Regions from separate parts of the Homo sapiens genome. Here all the other regions are linked to region 2. The links are contacts of gene promoters, found by promoter capture Hi-C in blood cells and fetal thymus (Javierre and others, 2016). All regions are on one chromosome and are shown on one strand. The core of a region is centred on a gene start or on the middle of the fragment in contact, and the rest is flanking DNA. Distances in the headings are between cores, read along the strand shown.

Region 1 (2,831 bases), core at 80-2,579, 470 kb before region 2:
TGTCCTAAATGCATCCTCTGATGCTGCCTGTCCCAGCTGGGGCCACGGGGTGGGGTCCTGCTGCTGTGGCGCAACGCCTCTTAGGTCTCCACTGCCTGCTGGAGGAGGAGGGAGGGCTGGCCCGACAGCGCAGGAGATGCATCACGCAAACAGCCTAGGGCAGAAGTCAGGGGGCAGGACACGGGCCATGCAAGGACACGTAAGAGTGCCAGGCTGATGTCAGACACCTAAGAGTGCCAGGCTGATGTCACGGCAGCCAGTGGGGGGAAGCTAGAAGAGGCCATGCTGACTTTCTCCGCCTGCATGCAGTGTGCCAGCCCCTGTGTCTGCCACAAGGACCCAAGCAGAGACTATGACCCTCTCCCTACTCCAGCCCGGGAAGGCCATCCAGTGAGTAACATCAGTGGGGACAGCCCACAGGCAAAGCTCAGGCCCCCACCTCTCCTCCCTAGGCCCTGAATAGGAAGGAGCTCCTGAATGACCTGTGCCAGGACCGTGGGCTCCCACGTGCTTTGTGCGGCCAGCACCGTTGATCTGACCAAGCGGGAAGCTCAGGGGCGTGCAGACAGCAGGGGCTGTGGAACAGGGAGAGCTGCTCCGAGAGGAACATGGGAGTTAAGGATGGCAGCTCTGCATCTTTCCATCTGGGGTCCAAAGATGAAAACGACTGGGTCATAACCCAGCTCACCTTTGTGGGCAGGGTTTCAGCTGCTGCCAACCAGACACCGGAGGAAGGGACAGCCCCTGATGGAGAGGGCGCTGGGTCCCCCTGGAGTCCATGAGGCACCATTAGTCGTCCAATAGCCCAGAACATCGCAGGTGGCATCTTCGGGCTCCTGTCAATCATTCCAGGTCAGCACGAAGGGCAGGGCCTAACTCTGGCGTGCCTAGTAAGAACCACTCCAGAAGGCTACCGGGTAAACTGTGGATTCTGGGTCCTGTGCTCAAGGTTTTGATGCAGTAGGTTTGGGATGGGGCCTGGAAATCTGCATTTGAACACGCATACCAGGGGAGCGGGTGAGTGGAGCCCAGAGTCCCCCGTCCTCCAGCTTAGCATGACTCAGTGTGTGAACCCCTCACTGGGGACCCCTCTGTGCCTGACCTCGCCTACAGGGGCAGATGACACGAAAATCAAGCCCTTCTGATGCCAGATCTGAATCCCTGGCTCTGAGCTCATCCCACAAGGTTCCTTGTGGGAATGAGCCTGGGAGGAACCCAGGCTCAGCTGAGAAGGCACTGAAGGGGACTCCTTCCTGGTGCCCAGGGGCATCTCGGCTCAGACACAACTTCTAATCTCTGCTGAGAGAGGGCCAGCTCCTTTATTAACTTATGTGGGCTTCTGCACCCCCAAAACCCAGTGTGGCAGGATCTGACCGGGTTGGCATTGGAAGCATCAGGGGAAGACAGGAGAGGACAGGTCACCTGTCGGGGGAAGAGGGAAGGACAGCAGAAACCAAGGCGATGTGGGGGCCACAGGGACCCACGGCCTCTGTGAGGAAGGAGCCTGGCAAGGAAAGTCGTGCTGGTGGAGGGAGGAGGGAGGCTTACAGTGACAAGGCGAGCCAGAGACCAGGGACAGGAGGGACACAGGGCTGCTGGAGCCACAGCAACACTGCGACCTGTGCAAATGGAAATGTGGCCAGGTGCCCTGGGAGGAGGCAACCTGGGGCCCTTCATGGTGAGTCATCCAGTGCTGATCACCATGCTGCTTCCTGCCCCGACCTCAAGGCATGTCGCTGAAATTCCCCAATTGGAAAACCAAATGAAGGCCCAGGTCTTTGATTTTTGGTGTGTGTGTGTGTGTGTGTGTGTGTGTGTGATTTTTGTTGTTTTTTTGTGAGACACAGTCTCACTCTGTCACCCAGGCTGGAGTGCAGTGGTGCGATCATAGTTCACTGCAGCCTTGACTCCCTGGGCTCAAGCAATCCTCCCATCTCAGCCTCCTGAGTAGCCGGAACAACAGGAGTGAGCTGCCATGCCCAGCTGATTTCTTTTTCTTTTTGGAGCAATGGGGTCTTGCTATGTTGCCTAGGCTGGTCTCAAACTCCTGAGCTCAAGTGATCCTCCCATCTTGGCCTCCCAAATTGCTGGAGTTACAGGCATGAGCCACCACCATGCCTGGCTAGGTCTCTGAAATATTAAAAGACATGTCAAGGAGCTGAAAGCTGCTCCCCTAACTTAATTATCAAGATCTTCAAGTGTGGCTCTCAGAAGATACACTTCAAACCACCGTCACCTACACACATGCAAAGAAACATCTTCTGAATGCGGATGCTAAGTCATGTTCACAGGTTCAGGACGTGCCAGCTGCAGAGTCAAACTGCTGTTTCAACTGGTTTTAGGCCACAGCAGCTGACGCACATCCTCGAATATGAAATGCTTTTAAATGTCACTTCACGTTAAGTACCACTTGGTAGGTTTTTAAATTACTCTTAAATGGCATATTTTCTTAATTTTTCTTCATGGTAAATCATCGGCCAATTCACCACCTCTAACTAATCATGGTGCTGTATTTAAAGCTAATTACTCACATCACAAGTACACAGGGCAAATGCAGTGGGGCAATTAAAAGATCGCACGTACAGATATCCACAGGACAGTGCTCACGTGTTTTGGCAAATCAATGTCCAGGTGCCAGGCCCGGGAAGAAAGTATACTCGGGAAGCAAATCTCCTTCTCATCTAGTTCCCTGTTGGGACACCTCTACAAGTTACCCACACCTCCAAATTAAATATCCATGTCCTCAAAAGCTTGTGACACAGCTCTGTATTGGGACTGTCTTCACAGAACACAAAATCTGAGTACAGTACACAGTCCCATAACAACGTGAA
Region 2 (2,713 bases), core at 212-2,711:
ATTTGCTCAATGGCTCTTTTTCCATGGGAAAAGAGGGCAAGGACTTCATTCTATGAGGACATGACTGTCTGATTCACGGCTGTCATCACCAGCACCTAATACATAGTCACACTCACTATTTGTTAAATACATGAATACATGCTAAAATAGGGTTTTATATATAGAGGGAGTATGGGAGCCCCCAAAAGGGACATTTGCTTAGTTTTATGTGTAAATATCGGGCTGGAGGGTGAGGTAAGGGTGTTATTTCAGAGGTATCAGGAAAAATTCCTTAAAGATGAGAACTGAGCTGAGTTTTGGGAGACAGAGGAAATTAGGTAAAAGTGGAGTTGGGGGTTGCTTAGGAGTTCCCATATCTTGTGGCGGAACTTCAAGCAGTTTCGGAGTGCCAAGACAACAGCCTGTAAATGTAAGCAGAAGAAAGATCTGGAAGGGCTTTCTAGGCTGTTTTATATATTTCCATTTTAGTATCCATATCCATATGCTTATTTTAAACACTTGTCCATAGATCCTTACTACACTGGTAGCTCATTGATGCTAAGGACTGCATGTAGCTTGTTATCCAGGTGCCCAGCATAATAATGGGGATATGGTAGTTCCTCAAAAGTTAATGCAGAAATGAAAGAACAAACGGAAGAATAACAAGTAACGGCATTGTGAGCACTCTCCAGTGATGAAGTCATCAGATGGTAGGGATGTCAGGAAAGGGGACTATACCAGGTTAGACAGAGACCTACTCAGCATCTTAACTAACGGTGAGGTAAGTTTAGTAAGCCTCACATCTCAGAAATAAAATCAGAGGGAGGAATGTTGGGAGTTTCAAACTGCTTTCCTAGCGGGAAGGTGAAAAAACACAAAATATAGTGGGGTGCGGTGCCTCATGCCTGTAATCCCATTTTGCTGAGGTGAGAGGATTGCTTGAGGCCGAGTACGAAACCAGCCTGGGCAACATAGCGAGACCCCCGTCTCTACAAAAGAAAAAATGTGAAATTAATGGCAAGCGCCTGTAGTTCCAGCTACTGGGATGAGGAGGGAGGATCGCTGGAGGCTGCAGTGAGCTACGATCGCTCTAGCCTGGGCGACAGGATGAGACCTTGTCTCAAATAGAGATAGACAGACAGACAGACTTCAGAATTTATTAGGGTTTGTAATTTCCAGGTTCCAAAGCACAGCAAGGGAAAGGGCCTGGCTGGGTAGTACGTTACACCCGGAAGTAAAGAGACGCATACACCGTTGGGTGCACTTTATAGTCTGGCTGGCAAACGAGCGACACCGACGCGCAGAGTTAAGTGCTGGGACTTCCCAAGCCTGGAAAGCAGACCGTGTCTCTGCAACTACGCGGCTGCCACGAGCGCTGAGCGGCCGGGCATTTGGCCTCGAGGAGGAGGCACTGTAAGGGCGGCGCAAGAGGGCGGAACGCGGGACGCCAGGCACCCTAGCTCCCGACGGACGCAGTTTTCAGTTGCACGGGCGAGCTCCGGGCCGGCTGCGGAGCGACTCCCCGCCGCCAAGTGGGCGGCGTGGCTGTCGGGAAAGAAGGGCTGGGGCCTGCCGTTCTTCCTCCCGAGTATCCCCTCCAGCTGGACGACCCCACGCTGCAGCACGGGCTTCCGGCTTCTCTCCTCAGTGGCCAATTCGAGGGCACAGCGGGCTCCGGAGGCGCGGCGGCAAGCCTATCCCGCCTCCCAACCACAGCCTCCAGCACCCGAGAGAACGGCCGCCCACAGCACACGTTCTCCGGACAGGAGGGCGAAGGCCCAAGACCTGGAGAGGTGGGCTCGAGGGAAAGATCTGGGTCCCACCACTACTTCCTGGAGACGCCGGGGAAAGCAGGCCATCCTTCGAGCCACCCATCTCTTCTCCGATTGGTTAACTGCCTTCTTATTGCGCTCCGCTGGCTGGTGATTGGTTGGGATGCACCGTCTATCACCTGCTTCCTTGTGAGAATCTAGGTCTCTAAGGGAAGCGTTACTTGAGGCTCGGTTGGGAAGAGGTTGGTTGGGCCTCTTGAGCCCACTTTATTTATCGTAGTGGGGATCGTCCCCCGGCGCGAGCTTCCGTCGCAACGGCCGGGAAAGAAACCAGTAGCGGGACGGAGGGCGGGGGTGGCAAGAAAGTCAAGGTTTAGAAGTAAGCCGGAGACGCCTAACCCTGGTAACATCCGAATGGGAACGGGATAGGAAGGAAGGCCTTTGAGAGAGGAGGCGTAAACCCAGGAACAGTGACAGTGTAGGACGAAAGGCCTAAGTTTGTTGCGGAAGGTAGGGGCCTTGCGGGAGGTTTTCGTGACCTAATTGTATGGGGATCTAATTTTCTAGATGTGTCTAACAAAATCCACTGGAGAATTTGCTTTGGCTTTGCAGCAGAGTGGGGAGACTACCACCCGTTCCTGGCCTTTAAAGAAACAGTTTATTGAATTATTCAACTCTCTTTTATTGCTTCAGATGGGCAGCTCTCAAAAAAGGCACAAACAATTGAAGGATGGATACCATGGCATATGTTAAAAGCGTGTTGAAAGGAAAATAAGGTATTCGCTTTGTTTTCATTGTGATTAACTGTATAAGAAAATTACCTTTAAGGAGAAGCTCAAGTTTTAAATAATATTAGGGTAACTTGATTTTATGATAGGCTTCAACTTGTAAAATTATTTATTACAAAAATCCTATTATTGCTGTACCTACGAAATATGCTCTTTGCTAATTATGGTCTTAAT
Region 3 (2,821 bases), core at 8-2,507, 400 kb before region 2:
CAATCCACTGAGAACCTGAACAGAACAAAAGAGTGGAGGAAGGATGAATTTTCTCTCTCTCTCTCTCTTCTTAAGTTGGGACATCCATCTTCTCCTGCCCTCAGACATTGGAGCTCCTGGTTCTCAGGCTTTCAGACTCCAAAGCTTACACCTGCACCACCTTCCCAATCCCAGGTCCTCGAGTCTTTGGCAATGGACTGGGAGTTATACCATCAGCTAGGCACAATGAATTACACCACTGGCTTTCCTGGGTCCCCAGTTTGTAGACAGCAGATTGTGGGACTTCTCAGCCTCCATAATTGTGTGAGCCAAATTCCATAATAAATCTCCTCATAAATCTATATATCCTATATGTTCTATTTCTCTGGAGACCCCCTAATATAAACAGTATATTTCCATTTTCTTCTTCCATGCTTTGTCCAATGTTGTCATATATTTTACCTCTTATAAACCCCACATTACTATTGTTTTTGCTCTGGACAATTATCAATTAATGTAATTAAAAATAAGAAAAAATATAACATATTTATTCTCTTTTACCATTTCAGGGTCTCTTCATTTCTTTGTTTAGATCCCAACCGCCATCTGATGCCCCTTCTGCCCAAGAACTTCCTTTCATTTCTTACAGTGCAGATCTGTGGCAATAAATTCCCTCAGCTTTTGTTTGTCTGAAACATTCTTTATTTGGCCTTTAATTTAAAAATATATTTTTGCTGGGTATAGAATTATGCATCGACAGGATTTGAGCTTTTTCTCTTGATACTTTAAAAATGTTATTTCACTGTCTTAATGACTTTCATAGTCTCTGACAAGAAGTCTGCTGTTATTCTTACCCTTGTTCCTCTGTTTGTAATGTTTCATTTTCTTTAAACTATGGCTGCCTGCAAGACTTTCCCCTTTACCTTGGGTATTTCAGCAACTTGATTCCAGTGTTTCTAGAACTTGGAGGGTTCTTAAAAAAAAAAATCCTGCTTGGGGTTCTCTGAGATTCTTGGATCTGTTTGTCTTATTAGTTGTTTCCTGTCTTTCATTAATTTGGGATAATTCTCAGCAACTGTGCCTTCTAGTATTTTTTTCTGGACAGTATCTTCTCTTTTCCTTCTGGGTTTCCAATTACATGTGTGTTAGACTACTGATACTGTTCCATAGTTCTTAGATGCTCGGTTTTGTCATCCCTCCCCTTCCCCACTCCACTTTCCTCTTTCCTTGTTTCTTCTTTTGTTTCACTGTTCCTTTTTATATTCTGCTGATTTAGCTTTCATTATTTTCTCAGCTACATCCAGTTTGCTAATAAACCCAATTTGTTTTTACATTTCCAACAGTTTCCATTTAACTCTTAAAAACTTGTTTCCTTATTTCTGTTGATATAGACTTTTCTCAATACATTTTTCAATACATTAATCACAGTTATTTTTAAGTTCCCATATCTAAGTTATCTCTGAGTCTGTTTCCATTGATTGCTGATTGCTTTATCTCTTGATTTACAACACGTCATTCTTTCTTGCCTTTTTTGTCTCATAATTTTGTGCTGAATGCTGGATATCATTTGCAAAGCAGTAGAGACTAAGTAAACAGTATTTCTTGTCCAGCAATGAATTCACATGTTCTTCTAGCAAGCCATTACTAAGGTTGATTGAGTCAACCTAGTCAGGGTTTGAGGGAGATGGCTGCTATTGTTATCTGATACACCAAGCATCAAAATCCCCTAGCCATGGGCTGCTGTCTTGTGCCTAGTGTGCTAGACTTTTTTCAGTGTTCCTGATCATCCTGTAGTTCCTTGACATTTATGTCACAAAGGTGACACAAATTCCTCTTTACATTCTTGCTCTCCAGAGATGACTGTTATTGCTACGTTACCAGGTGCTAGGCTCCTTGCTCTCCCTGGCCCAGCCTAAATTTTAGGAATGATCCATATACCTGGACCTCAGAGTGGGGCCTTCTCAGGATCTGTGCATCTCTTCTCCAACACAACTAAACTCTGCCTGATATTTGTCCCTGTCTTGGGCATGAAAGAGTTCCTGTCCCTCATGCAGCAGAAAGAGAACTTTGCTTTGCATCAGTGAAAGATTATGAGCCTAAGAGTCTGTCCTGCTTTTGCTATTAATTACCCTTCGTCCCAGAAGCAGAGGATCTTGCTGGTCACAGGGCAGGAAAGAGGGTTTCCTAAACCTCTGCCAGAAATAGATCTTTGCTGAGTCCTATGGGCTAGAGGTTTCATTGCCCTCCTGGGAACTCTGTCATAGGAGAGAAGGCTGTGGGGAAGCAGGTGTTACATCATGCCTGTCTCCCAGTGGCAGCTGAGATTACCTCCCGCAGAGCAGCACGATCAAAAGAGGTTCTGTCTAGTCTCCAGGCTTGCTCATAAGCTTTCTTAAGAGTACCCAGTGGAGGGCTGTAGAAAACAGCTTATGAGTAAGTGTAACCTTCCCCTTGTATCTGGGGTACCTGGTTATCCTAAACTGATGCATTAGCCCATACTCAACCTTAAGAATGCATTACAATTTTTGCTGAATTCTTCTTATGCACTTCTATGATGGTTACCTGTTCCCCCTGTGCTCTGCTAAATGTGAAACAGTTCAAGTGTCCTGTCTACTCTCAGATGGGTTTGTCACCCTTTGGGATTTAAGAAAAGTTATTGCTTTCTAGATAATCTGGCCTTTTTTGTTTCTTAAAATAGAAGCAATGTTCTCTTATATCCTAATTGGAAGAGAAACTCCACCTTCACAGTAAGAACAAGGGTAACATATCAGCTTCTTCTTTTGTTAAGACATTGAGCTGATAACTATTTTCACAAAAAAAGAAAGAAACAGTAAACAGATTT
Region 4 (2,845 bases), core at 66-2,565, 280 kb before region 2:
AAATAAATTGACATTTCCCTCCTTATCTTGGGAGTTAATTAATATTTTAAAATTAATAGACTATTTCTTAGAGCAGTTTTAAGTTCACAGCAAAATTTAACAGAAAGTTTCCATATACCCCTGAGCTCCCAGTAACCTCCTGGGTTCAAGAGATTTCTCCTGCCTCCGATTTCCGAGTAGCTGGGATTACAGGCACCTGCCACCAAGCTCGGCTAATTTTTGTATTTTTAGTAGAGACGGGATTTCACCAGGTTGGCCAGGCTGGTCTCAAACTCCTGACCTCAGGTGATCCACCCGCCTTGGCCTCCCAAAGTGCTAGGATTATAGGCATGAGCCACTATGCCCAGTCTCACCATAGGTTTTTAAGAAAAGTAGGCAGACAAGGAAAGGAAGATAATTCAAAAAATATTTTAAAACTCTATAATTAATTAAAAAAAACCCTATGATATAAGTACTATGATTATCTCCATTTCAGTGATGAGAATATAGAAGCATTATGGGAGTTGCCCAAGTCACACAGCACGTGGGTGGGGAGGTGGCCTTTGTTCCCTTGCTATTACTCAAATCATGGCACCTGGTCACTTCCTCAGCGATGCTTTGCCTCTTGACCCATGTAAAACCACCTTCTCCTTTCCTTTTCTCTCTCCTTAGCCTGGCTTATTTTCCTCCCTAGTGTTATTAGCAACTGACATTGTATCATACAATTACTGTGTTCTTTTTATTGGCTATCTCCCTCTCAGCAAGTATAAGCTTCATGAGGGGCTTTGTCTGCCTTATTTATCTGATTCCTAGTGCCCAGAAAAACACCTGACACATGGCAGGCACTCAATAAGTACTGAATTAATACGTTAATATTAAAGTGAATTTTAAAAACAAAGGAATGCATGTAACCCTTAAGAGAAAAATAGCTCTATGGGAGGATCCTAAATAGAATACCTTCCCACTTAATTTAACACTAGAGCCAGGAAAAAAAATTATCTTCCTAATTAAGTATTTTTTTCAAAATCTTAGAAAACAACAAATATCAGAAAACAATACAAATGCTTGCAGGCAACATAATATTAACAGGGCATCTAACGTTTCCTATTAGATTCATGCCCTTAGGAAGTCAGTAATTTAATAAGTGTAACAGTTGCCATGAACATTACACTACCTGTGAACACTCAGCATCTGAATCCCGCATATTAGAATCTGCTCCAGCCTTTGGAGACAGCAGTCCCTTGTGTTCCAGCAGTGTCAGTGTGCCTCCTGCTATAAACCCTGGGACCACGGCACACACTTTGGTAAATGTATGTAGCGGTTATCTCAGTTGATTAGGACATTCCCAAAGTGTGGTACATGTAAGAAAATATATTACTTTAACAGAAATATGTTATCTCTACTCTAAGAAATGTACCTGGCATTGTCGTGAGTTGGCCCAAGGAAGCCTGAGGATGTTACATTGAGAACGTCTGTAGGATAAGGAAACACAGAAAGTCATTCAGAAGTAATCAGTTTTTCAAGTAGTACTGAACTTTGAAGTCATTCTTTTCACACCCCAATCCTTCTAACACCTCCCACCTCACTGCAGCAGAGTGAGAGGAGTAATTTCCAGACAGCAGACAGTTGCAGCAGAACAGCATAGGCTGTGTCTGTGCCGTGTGGGCCTCCAGAAGCTCCCACTCCAGTGAGGCAAATCTAGCCTAGTGGGGCAGAGGGAGGACCTTCTGTCGGTCTCTTGGGACAAGTTGCTCAGCATCTTTGTTCCTCCATTTCCTCATTGTAAAATGCAGATAATGACAGTACTTACCCAGTGGGTTGGGATGAGTATTAAATTAGTCAAATCCCTGCAGACACTCAAAAACATTTATTAGGCCTGTCTCGCTGGAACAGAAGCTTCCTGAAGGCAAAGATTTTGTCTACTCTGTGTACTGTAGTATCTCAGTGCCTAGGTTGGGGCTGGCATGTGGTAAGTGCTCATTCAAATATTTGTGGCACGAATGAGTGAAAAATTCTAGCATAGCATGGATCTGTGCAGCAGCAGCATAGAAAGAGCATAGCTATATTTATAGAAATACTGAGGAGAAATTAACAGTTGATATCTCAATTTAAGCAATCACAAAGGAAGAATTCTGTCTACAATTGGCAAATCAACCCTGATATAAAGGAGGTAGCACTCCATTGCCAACTGGCGCAGGATTGGAAGCAGAACCAGGGCAACAAATAGAGAAGACGACCAGGCAAAGACCTTTCTTGTAGTCACTCCTGGATAAAGATATTGACTTCTTGGTGAGGAGGGATCAGATGTTAATGCCAACAGAAGGTTGCAGTTTCCCTAATATTTGAGGACAACCGGCATGCCATTGCTACATCTTCTTTTTCCAGTCTACTTGTGCCGTCTCCTTCAACCAGTCCGTGTGATGTGATTCTCAGAGTCCTCGCTACCCCTGACGTCTCATCCTTATCTACTTCCTGGCTGTCTTAACGGGTAGTTCTGGATGGGAAAGTCAGCACGCTACCCAGCCAGTGCAGGAAACAGCAGGCGTTCTAGAAACCGTGCTTTTATTCATACCCCCTAGCAGGCAGTAGCTGTTATAGCAACCGCTTCACACGATTCACAGTGAGCTCCTCATCAGTGACTTGCCCTGAGTCAACTCAACTACCAGATCCTCTGCACGTGGGCTTCTTTCATGTCAGAGAGCTGCCTGCCAGGTCCAGAAGAACTAAGCGTCTTAGTGAGTCAGTAGAACATTTTTTTATTTGGAAAGTTATATTCATATTTTTCCGTTATAAAAATAGAATTATGTAACTGAAAATTTTGAAAATAAAGACAAAAATTATCCGTGACCCTGCTAGCCTATATAAT
Region 5 (2,870 bases), core at 29-2,528, 420 kb before region 2:
TGAGTTAAAAAAAAATTTGCCCTTCGCTTGAGGCTACCAATATGGGACATTTCATGGAAGATTTTCTAGTTATTAACAGAGTTTCTGAAAAATTTAACTGTGAAAACCTGTCACCAAAAATGCCACATAAACCACCTAAACTGAAAAGGAGCAGGATGAAGTGAGAAAACAAGATCAGAAAATAAATGTAAAAGTTTGGGGGAAAATAGTGCAACTTCAAAAAGCTTTGAAGGAAAAAGCATTTTCATGCATATTTGAGTCTTATAAAATATTCTTCAGATATTTAATATTAATATTCAAAATGAGAATAAGAAGCAGCCTTTTCTTCCTAGCTTGCATTTGCCATACATCTATGCATGCCAATATATACGTGGTACCATATACATAAAATAACCAGCTGATCTGTTCACCTCAATGCAGAAATCAGTATCTGCATTTTAACTTTTAGTAGGTTAAAATCAGCAAATCTATTGTTTGGCTTTATACTATGGTTCATTTGGGATGTTATTCAATCAACAGATATTTATTAAGTAGGTACTATGTGCCAGGCATATTACAGGTGTTAACTAGTTTTCAATCTATTACACTTAAAAAACAAAACAATTGGTCCTATTCAAGTTTAACAAAATAATTCATAATAATTGATAGTTTAAAAAATTACCAATTATCTTCATTTTCAAAAGCTTTTAAAAATTAACACTATTTTAAATCTGTACATTTGATCTCATCTAATAATTTGTGAGTTGGTAAGAGCATCACATCTTCATTGCCTAAAGTTAAGCATCACAAGCCCAGTACAGGTGCAGTGGTCAATTTCATACTGGGAAATACAGAAGGAGAAAGGATCTTTTCCTTAAAGCTGCAATCTCTTCTTTGGACAATCATTTAACTATTAAAATCAATTTGCTAACAAAAAGTTAATGTCATTGGTAATCAGAAAAAAGATGGCTTACTCAGACTGCTCAGCTGGCGTATGATAGCGGCAAGAGTACTATTGGTTACACATTCAAGTTCGCTGGTAATCCCTTCAGGCAGAGCTCCCCGGCACAAGTGCCGGGGCTCAATGTTCCTCTTCACTAAAGGCATGGTTCACAATCTGAAAATTGAAAACACATTCTTTATAAGCTCATATTCACATTTTAACAAATCTGGAATTTTAATTCCCTTGAAAATTGACTATTTTCCAGGAATTTTCATTATCCTAAAATTTCTATGTGACAGAATCAGCTAAAATGCAACAAACAGTGAATTACTTTAGTGAGTTTTATAGAGCCTGAAGGTACATGTATAGTATAATCTCACTTCATAGAAAAATAATATATTCCATATTTCTGACTTCTCTCTTCACTGAAATGAGGAGAGAGAGGAAAGGCAAAAAGTCCACATGTATCAAGAGCAAGAGAGGAGACACAAGCCACAAACCTGAAGACCACTTAACCAGATTAAGAGACAGGAAAGGCCACCATTATGACATCACCCCAGTTGTCCCACAGAACTGGTGTTTATGGTTTCTTTGAATAAACGTAGAAATTGACCCTCCGAGTCTTGAAGCCTGAGCAAGTTACATTTGTCTTATCTGAATTGCTTTCTCAGGCAACCATCCATCCGGCCTTCCAGGTAGTATTAAAAAACTAAAACTTACTAGATCATCTCATCTGGACCATGAGAAGTCAGACTCCTCACCCATCATGACTGCTTAAGACCACCTGTTCCCTGTTGACCAACTCCTCTTCCTTATCTCTCCCTAATTCCTGTTTTCTCACATATAGTTACCTTTCTTCCTGCTACATAAACCCCTAATTTTAGTAGGTCAGGAGGATGGATTTGAGGCTTATCTCCATCTCCTGAGCTATAGCACCCAATCAAAGCTTTCTTCCCTAGCAACACTCATTGTCTCAGTGATTGGCTTTCTGTGTGGCACGCAACTGGACCTAGACAAACCTCTGGCATTTTGGTACACCTAGGCTGCTAACTGGGGGCAGCAGGTCAATGTCCCCATTTACCAACCCAAGCAAGTAAGCCCACCTGAGCCACAGAACCTTCTCCCTCCCTACAAAAGGCTCAGGAGTAGGAGGCACCAGGTAAGTGCGAAACGGGAATTGAGGGGAGATAAAACAGGTGGGGTGGCTTTTAAAACTCCTTTTAAGAATGCCTTCTCCCTTCCTGGGCTGTCTTCCTCCACCCAACCCAGGATGTTTTACTCTCTGGAAAAGAAAGGTAAATTAAAGAATTTGAACTTGGGACTCTAGGCATAGCTAAAGGTAGGGGAGGAAATGTACTGGAAACAGGAATACTAAATCAAAGTCTACAATGACTGGTGAGACAGCTCCCCAACCTCTTGTTCCACTTGGCTCCTAGAACACAGGCAGCCTGGCTTTTACTCCCATCCAAAAACACTGGAGCATTCCTTCCTGGGGAATGTTTGAAGAGAAAAGATCTACAAATATGAACACTGGGGAGGGAGGCTTTCCCCTGCTGAAACTGCCACCCAGGCAGTAACACCTGTCAAAATCTCCCCAAGCACCCAGAGTGCACCAGCTTTTAGTGCCTCAGACTTAAATAAGAGTCAAGGATCACCAAACACTTCAGAAAAGCCTTCTCCAACATCCTAGGCATCCCTTTCACCCCTCTCCTCAAAAAGGAGATGATATGCTGGGCTCAGTGGCTCAAGCCTATAATCCCAGCACTTTGGAAGGCCAAGGTGGGTGGATCACTTGAGGTCAGGAGTTCGAAACCAGCCTGACTAACATGGTGAAACCCCATCTCGACAAAAAATACAAAAAAAAATTTAGCCAGGCGTGGTGGCACATGCCTGTAATCCCAGCTACTCAGGAGGAGGAGGCAGGAGAATCCCTTGAACCCAGGAGGCA
Region 6 (2,815 bases), core at 19-2,518, 340 kb before region 2:
CAGAGGTCTCCGAACTCCACACAACAGTAATCACAAGACCCCACAAGGCACAGTCCCTCCTTACTTCTCCTCCCTCACTTCTTGCCACTTCCCTGCCCTTGCCCACAACCACCCCCACTGGACTGAACTCCTGGTGTTTGTGGTTGCTCCAGTGCATCACCTCCCTGACCATCTCTCTGTACACCCTCTCCTCAACCCAGACTTCGACCAATTCCTTCTCATGGTGCTTCCTCTGGGAGGCTTTCCTGTCTCTCTGAACGTCCCTAAGCTTGGGTTTATGGTCCTCCTCTGAGCTCTTGTTGCTGGCCCCTTTCAGATCCCATATCAAACAATACATTGTAACCAACGGTTAAAACTCTTTGAGACTGAACTGCACAGCAAGCTCATCGGGGGCTGACAGAGGTATCTGTCTTGTTTATCTCTGTATCCCCGGCACATATTAAAACTCTGAAGTGTACTGAATGAATAAAGCAAATGAATGAATGGATTAGGTCATGCATGAGGCTCCTACATCCCTCACTGATTACTGACTCTATCATGGTACTTATCACACTGCACTGTAATTGCTTGTCCTGGTAGACTATGAACATCTTGAAAGCGTCTGTCTCTTATTTTTGCAACCCTAGTGATTAAAATAGTACCTGGTACCTAGTAGGCATTCATGAAATGGTTTTTTTAACATACAGGGTTATATATTTCATCTACAGTATTAAATGGAAAAAATCCAGAAGGATACACCCTATATTATGGTTACCTCTGAAGAAAGAAATAGGAATAGGACAACAATAAGACGGGAAAAAGAAAACTTAAGACTTTTTACCTCTATAAATCTCTGTGTTGATATTGTTTATTTTATAATGTACATCATTTATGTATTACTGGCATAAAATATTTCTGTATTACCAGCATAAAGTCAAGCCACAGGTAAAGAACCAGCCCTGAAGAAGAATGTGTGGGGCTGTCAGAAGCATTTAGTTCCACATGCCCAAGAGCAAAGCCAAAAAAAGCCTGACTTGAAAGAAACAGGGCCCTTAAAACGGACTGAGAAGAGAAGTTGAGAGATTCGGCCGGGAGCGGTGGCTCACGCCTGTAATCCCAGCATTTTGGGAGGCCGAGGTGGGCGGATCAACCTGAGGTCAGGAGTTCGAGACCAATCTGTCCAACATGGTGAAACTGCATCTCTACTAAAAGTACAAAAATTAGCCGGGCATGGTGGCGGGCGCCTGTACTCCCAGCTACTCGGGAGTCTGAGGCAGGAGAATCGCTTGAACCCAGGAGGCGGAGGTTGCAGTGAGCCGAGATCACACCACTGCACTCCAGTCTGGGAGACAAGAGCAAGACTCCGTCTCAAAAAAAAAAAAAAAAAAAAAAAAAAGAAAGAAAGAAAGAAAGAAAAGAAAAGAAAAAGAGATTCAAGGTCTACAGCAATGGAGAGCCACCCAAAGTGAAAAACAATCTGGGAGTACTCTTCAAAGAAAGTCCTTGGAATTCCAAAGACGATCACTAGTACTAGCCCGTGAGTAGGGACAATTCATTTAATACTTGCATTATAACGCAATTGTTTTAATCAAAACATCCCAATAACCAAAAGGTTACCTGCCATACATAGGTTTCTATGGGAACCGTAACGTGTGACTACAAAGACACACTGACAAGAGATAGGAGGTTACAATGTTGGCATGACCACTTAGCAAAGTGTGTTCCACCTTTGTTTTCGTAATTGTTGAAGATAGTGAAGCACATCATTGACTATTAGGTTGTAAATTTTAAAGCAAACAGATTTTTTAAAAACAAATGCTATTAAGCAACTTCATGTCAGCCAACTGGAAATGCAAGAACAATTTCTATATGTACATAGTTCTAGAATAAGCACAGGTTGGAAGGTAAATATAATAGTTGACCAAACTTTCCAATATTTAAACATGTGAAAAGACACAGCTTTTGTGAATACCAACTAAGAAAATCTTTCAAGATGAAGAAAAATGAGTACTACACTGAAGTCATTAGAACCCTGGGAGAAGGGAGCTGGAGAGGACACAATGAGAATGCCTTTGGGAAAGGTCAAACCCAGCTTTCGTTTGTTTAACCTCTCAAGCAGATAAAAGAACTAGCTTTAAAGAACCACTGCATTGTTTAACTGCTAGAAAAGGAGAGTTGGGTAAAGCACATATAAAAAGAAGCAATAGAATTTGCCCTAGAGACAATAGAAAGATTAGTCAATTACAATACTTTGAACTTAGTTTTGATAGAGTCGCATTTTAAGCTTTAGATAAACCTAATTTTTAAGATGCAAAATATTTCAAATAGCTATCCTCTCCCCCTTATAAAAAGTAGACTCTGAATCTTAAAATACCATGTTCTGCTATGCATTTAATTTGAAGAACTGCGAAAAGTAGTCTTTTTAATTTTCAGTTTTTGAAAACTCGAGACTGTTGCTGGAAGTAAACCGCTAATTTAAAAATTAACCTTAAAATGAGAAAGAATTCCTATGATGCTCCCATTGATCCCTAAGCCCATCACATAGTTTCTGAATAATTAAGAACTCTCGTCTCCACCAGGGAACTCTCCCTTGCAGAGGGGCCAAATCAAGAAGCAATCGCCATTGCACGTCAGCACCACAAACTGAGAGGAAGCTTCTGCCCTCGCTAAAGCCCAGGCGCGCGGGTAAAGACCCCCGGGGATGATACCCCGCGCGCCGCGGCTCCGTGCGCGCGGTCCCCCGCACTCGCGGGCCGCCCCACCTCCTCCCCTGCACTCCAAGAGTCCGGCCTGGTCTCCGAGGCCGGGAGCCACGCGGCACCGCAGCCTCGAGGGA
Region 7 (2,750 bases), core at 238-2,737, 380 kb before region 2:
AATACTCAAAGGCAGACTGAGAACTGGAGGAAAACCAGGGGCCAGCAGGGCAGCTGGACAGAGGGGCAGAGGTCCTGAGGGTGGAAGCACTGACCAGAAGGAAGGGCCTGAGGACAGGAAAGACAGGGAGAGACCAAAGGACCCTGGCGCCTCTGTCCAGGATTGTGCAGAGAACACAGATACAAGATCACCAGTTATGAAATACCAGGATTCCAGAAGTTTTAAAACTCCCCTGTTCTAAAAAAGTGGGACACTGTGTCCTTGGCTGATCTTTTGGCACTTTCTGTTGCTCTTGACCCCACAAAGATTACAAAAACAGTGGCTTCCAGGGAGGCCCTTGAGATGACAGTTTAAACCTTGAAACAAATCCAACCCAAGTAAAAAGATTTTCTTGCCCAAACTACTTTGTATTTTTCTCTGCTTTAATTACTGAACCCTATAACTAGAATTCATCCCTGATTCAAAGAGATGCTAAAAATAGCCTATTTCAGAATGTAGAATGAGAAGCATCGTGTAATTTTGCTACTAAATGGACTCCTTCTTTTTTTTATAGTTCAGTAACTTACTCTTCAAATACATTTATTTTTATCAACCAAAAAAATGCAAAGCACTTCGGATGCACATTAAACAGTAATTTTCAATACTAATTATGTATTTATAAGTTTATAAGTGAAATCTCAGGCATACACCAACCTTACTTAAAAACAGCCGCCTGACTCTTTCCCCCTAATCATGACCTTCATTAAACAGCTTTGATTGCAAAGAGTACCACCTCATTTACATATGATGAATGAATTAAAGCTCTTATCCAACAGGCTCCCCATTGCAACTGGCAATTTATTAATAACAACTTACATCTGAATCCACAGTGCCATTTACAAAGGGCTTTCACATAAATCATCTCATTTAATCCCCTACAACCTTGACACCTGCAAGGTAGGAATTAGTTTAACTATCTTGCAAATTAGGAAACAGTCTAATGGAAGACTCATCCAAAAAAAATCACACAGTAAATACAGGTGGAAGACACACTCACCTACATCTATCTCACCTAAGTCCCAAGGTTTATTCCAAACTCCACTCCTTCTATGACTGACTCTATCTTCTTCACTATGGCTGCAGGACCACACCAACCTAGCTAGATCACCCCACCCTCCTAACTCCAACAGAACTCACTAGGAGTATCACCAGTGTGAAACCCAACACATGCTACTTTCCACTGGGATTTACCTTCAGAGGCCTGTGTTTTGTCTTCTCAACTCTATACATTAAACTACTGTTTATCATGCCACCTATGAATCACCTGGTAGACAAATGTCTTTCTTTCCTTAATTTCAGCAACCAAACCAGGGCATTACCCTTAGCTTTGGCCCCACCATCCTGTCTCCAACCAGAAAATCCTTGAAGTTGTTCACAGGCCATCATAAATAAGTATAAAAGAGGTTTCCCTTTTTTAAAGTTTTTTACAAATATTTTTAGTAGAGAGACACAGAGTCTCACTGTGCTGCCCAGGCTGGTCTCAAACTCTGGCCTCAAGTGATCCTCCTGCCTCAGCCTCCCAAATGCCAAGATTATAGGTGTGAACCACCACACACAGCCCAAAAGAGGTTTTCTTAACTGTGCTTAAAGTTGCTTTATATCCTTTACTGGTTTGAGTCTCTGCCTTTCTCCCATGCCTATATCCCATCCCTGGTCTCTGACTTCCTATTGCCTCCTGAGCACCTGCTCAACCAAACAACTAGTTATTTGTGTTTTTATTTCCTTGATTTGACCTACCTTGATTCCTGAATATTCACCTGGTTCCTGTTCAGGTGCTGGAACACCTTTAACTTCCAGCCTCACCTTGCTCTCTGAAACCAGATTTTCTAATCTGTCCTCACATTAACTACAGTCCAACCCCTACAAAAGGTACCACCCAGGCCCCGACACAAGAAGCTGCTGAGCTTTCTACAACTGGCCAGAAGAAGAATAGTGCTGTCTTTTTTACCTTCAGCTTATACCTGCAGCTCCACACTTCCACAGCTATTTCAGGAGAAAGACAAATTTAACAGAGGTACCAACAGCAGTTACTCTTACCTCCCCATGGGCCCTTATCGCCTTCCTCTTCAAGCTCAGACTTAAAAATCAGGTGACAAATATCCTGGGCTAAAATACTACACAGTCAGCAATCTGTTGGATACCAACGGGTTAGATCATAACCAGATCAGGATTTCCACTTAGTTTCATTAAATGTGTTGAGTCTTACATTTGGACAAAGAAAATAATGAAAATCATGACATAAGTGCACGAAATATACAGAAAATCTGTACATTATCAAATAGAAATAGCAAGATGTAAATACTGCATTGCAGAGGTATTTTTTTCATTATTACCATGACAATTTTTAAATACTCCAAAATCAAACTATATTTCAAAATTACCTCTATAATACTAAACCTGACATAAAGATTTCATGTGCAATTCAACAAATAACTTCAGTTTTTCTTTTTCTCTCTCTGAGGATAAAGTATAATAGTGGCCACTATAACAAAGAGATTCATAAACCTGTACCCACAGGGGATCCTATGTGTTCAAACAAAACTGACAAACACAGCAGTACCATTTTTACAACATGTCTACATTCAAAGCTCCTGAGCCTCTAGTCAAAACCTAACTCACTATATCTAAAGTAATCAGGGAACTAAATGGCCCACCATCATGCCACAAGAATACTACAATTTATGAGAGAAGATACAAACGAACAAAAACAA

Evidence for each region. The method cuts DNA at HindIII sites, captures the fragments that hold promoters and counts their contacts. A CHiCAGO score of 5 or more calls a contact.
Region 1: a contact is called between a fragment that was not itself captured here and the fragment with the promoter of RNF6 in region 2, in 2 of 17 cell types (endothelial precursors and megakaryocytes). The highest score is 8.6, in endothelial precursors.
Region 3: a contact is called between a fragment that was not itself captured here and the fragment with the promoter of RNF6 in region 2, in 1 of 17 cell types (megakaryocytes). The highest score is 5.3, in megakaryocytes.
Region 4: a contact is called between a fragment that was not itself captured here and the fragment with the promoter of RNF6 in region 2, in 4 of 17 cell types (endothelial precursors, naive CD8 T cells, total CD8 T cells and 1 more). The highest score is 7.1, in endothelial precursors.
Region 5: a contact is called between a fragment that was not itself captured here and the fragment with the promoter of RNF6 in region 2, in 1 of 17 cell types (megakaryocytes). The highest score is 6.3, in megakaryocytes.
Region 6: a fragment that was not itself captured here is called in contact with the fragment with the promoter of RNF6 in region 2 in 1 of 17 cell types (megakaryocytes); the score reaches 5.1 in megakaryocytes.
Region 7: a fragment that was not itself captured here is called in contact with the fragment with the promoter of RNF6 in region 2 in 1 of 17 cell types (megakaryocytes); the score reaches 5.0 in megakaryocytes.

Annotation. Positions count from the first base shown.
Region 1 is chr13:26,692,789-26,695,619 of GRCh38, reverse strand. The region is part of intron 1 of LOC107984597 (a long non-coding RNA gene); the gene reads left to right. Among named protein-coding and RNA genes, the nearest start is that of GPR12, 67 kb to the left of the region's middle. The HindIII fragment of the contact is 2,846 bases long and covers 1-2,752 here.
Region 2 is chr13:26,221,062-26,223,774 of GRCh38, reverse strand. RNF6 (ring finger protein 6) reads left to right here and starts at 1,461. Exons shown (of 5, transcript NM_005977.4): 1 at 1,461-1,772; 2 at 2,445-2,527. RefSeq lists enhancers at 1,401-1,780, 926-1,807, 1,808-2,689 and a silencer at 2,231-2,280. The HindIII fragment of the contact is 7,611 bases long and covers 1-2,713 here.
Region 3 is chr13:26,622,785-26,625,605 of GRCh38, reverse strand. The region is part of intron 2 of WASF3 (WASP family member 3); the gene reads right to left. Among named protein-coding and RNA genes, the nearest start is that of WASF3, 67 kb to the right of the region's middle. The HindIII fragment of the contact is 2,222 bases long and covers 147-2,368 here.
Region 4 is chr13:26,502,771-26,505,615 of GRCh38, reverse strand. No RefSeq gene overlaps it. Among named protein-coding and RNA genes, the nearest start is that of WASF3, 53 kb to the left of the region's middle. The HindIII fragment of the contact is 1,125 bases long and covers 753-1,877 here.
Region 5 is chr13:26,640,487-26,643,356 of GRCh38, reverse strand. It overlaps WASF3 (WASP family member 3), which reads right to left. Exons shown (of 10, transcript NM_006646.6): 3 at 954-1,096. The coding sequence starts at 1,086. Among named protein-coding and RNA genes, the nearest start is that of WASF3, 84 kb to the right of the region's middle. The HindIII fragment of the contact is 1,185 bases long and covers 686-1,870 here.
Region 6 is chr13:26,558,369-26,561,183 of GRCh38, reverse strand. All of the region lies in intron 1 of WASF3 (WASP family member 3), which reads right to left. Among named protein-coding and RNA genes, the nearest start is that of WASF3, 2.1 kb to the right of the region's middle. The HindIII fragment of the contact is 1,995 bases long and covers 271-2,265 here.
Region 7 is chr13:26,602,395-26,605,144 of GRCh38, reverse strand. All of the region lies in intron 1 of WASF3 (WASP family member 3), which reads right to left. Among named protein-coding and RNA genes, the nearest start is that of WASF3, 46 kb to the right of the region's middle. The HindIII fragment of the contact is 4,088 bases long and covers 1-2,750 here.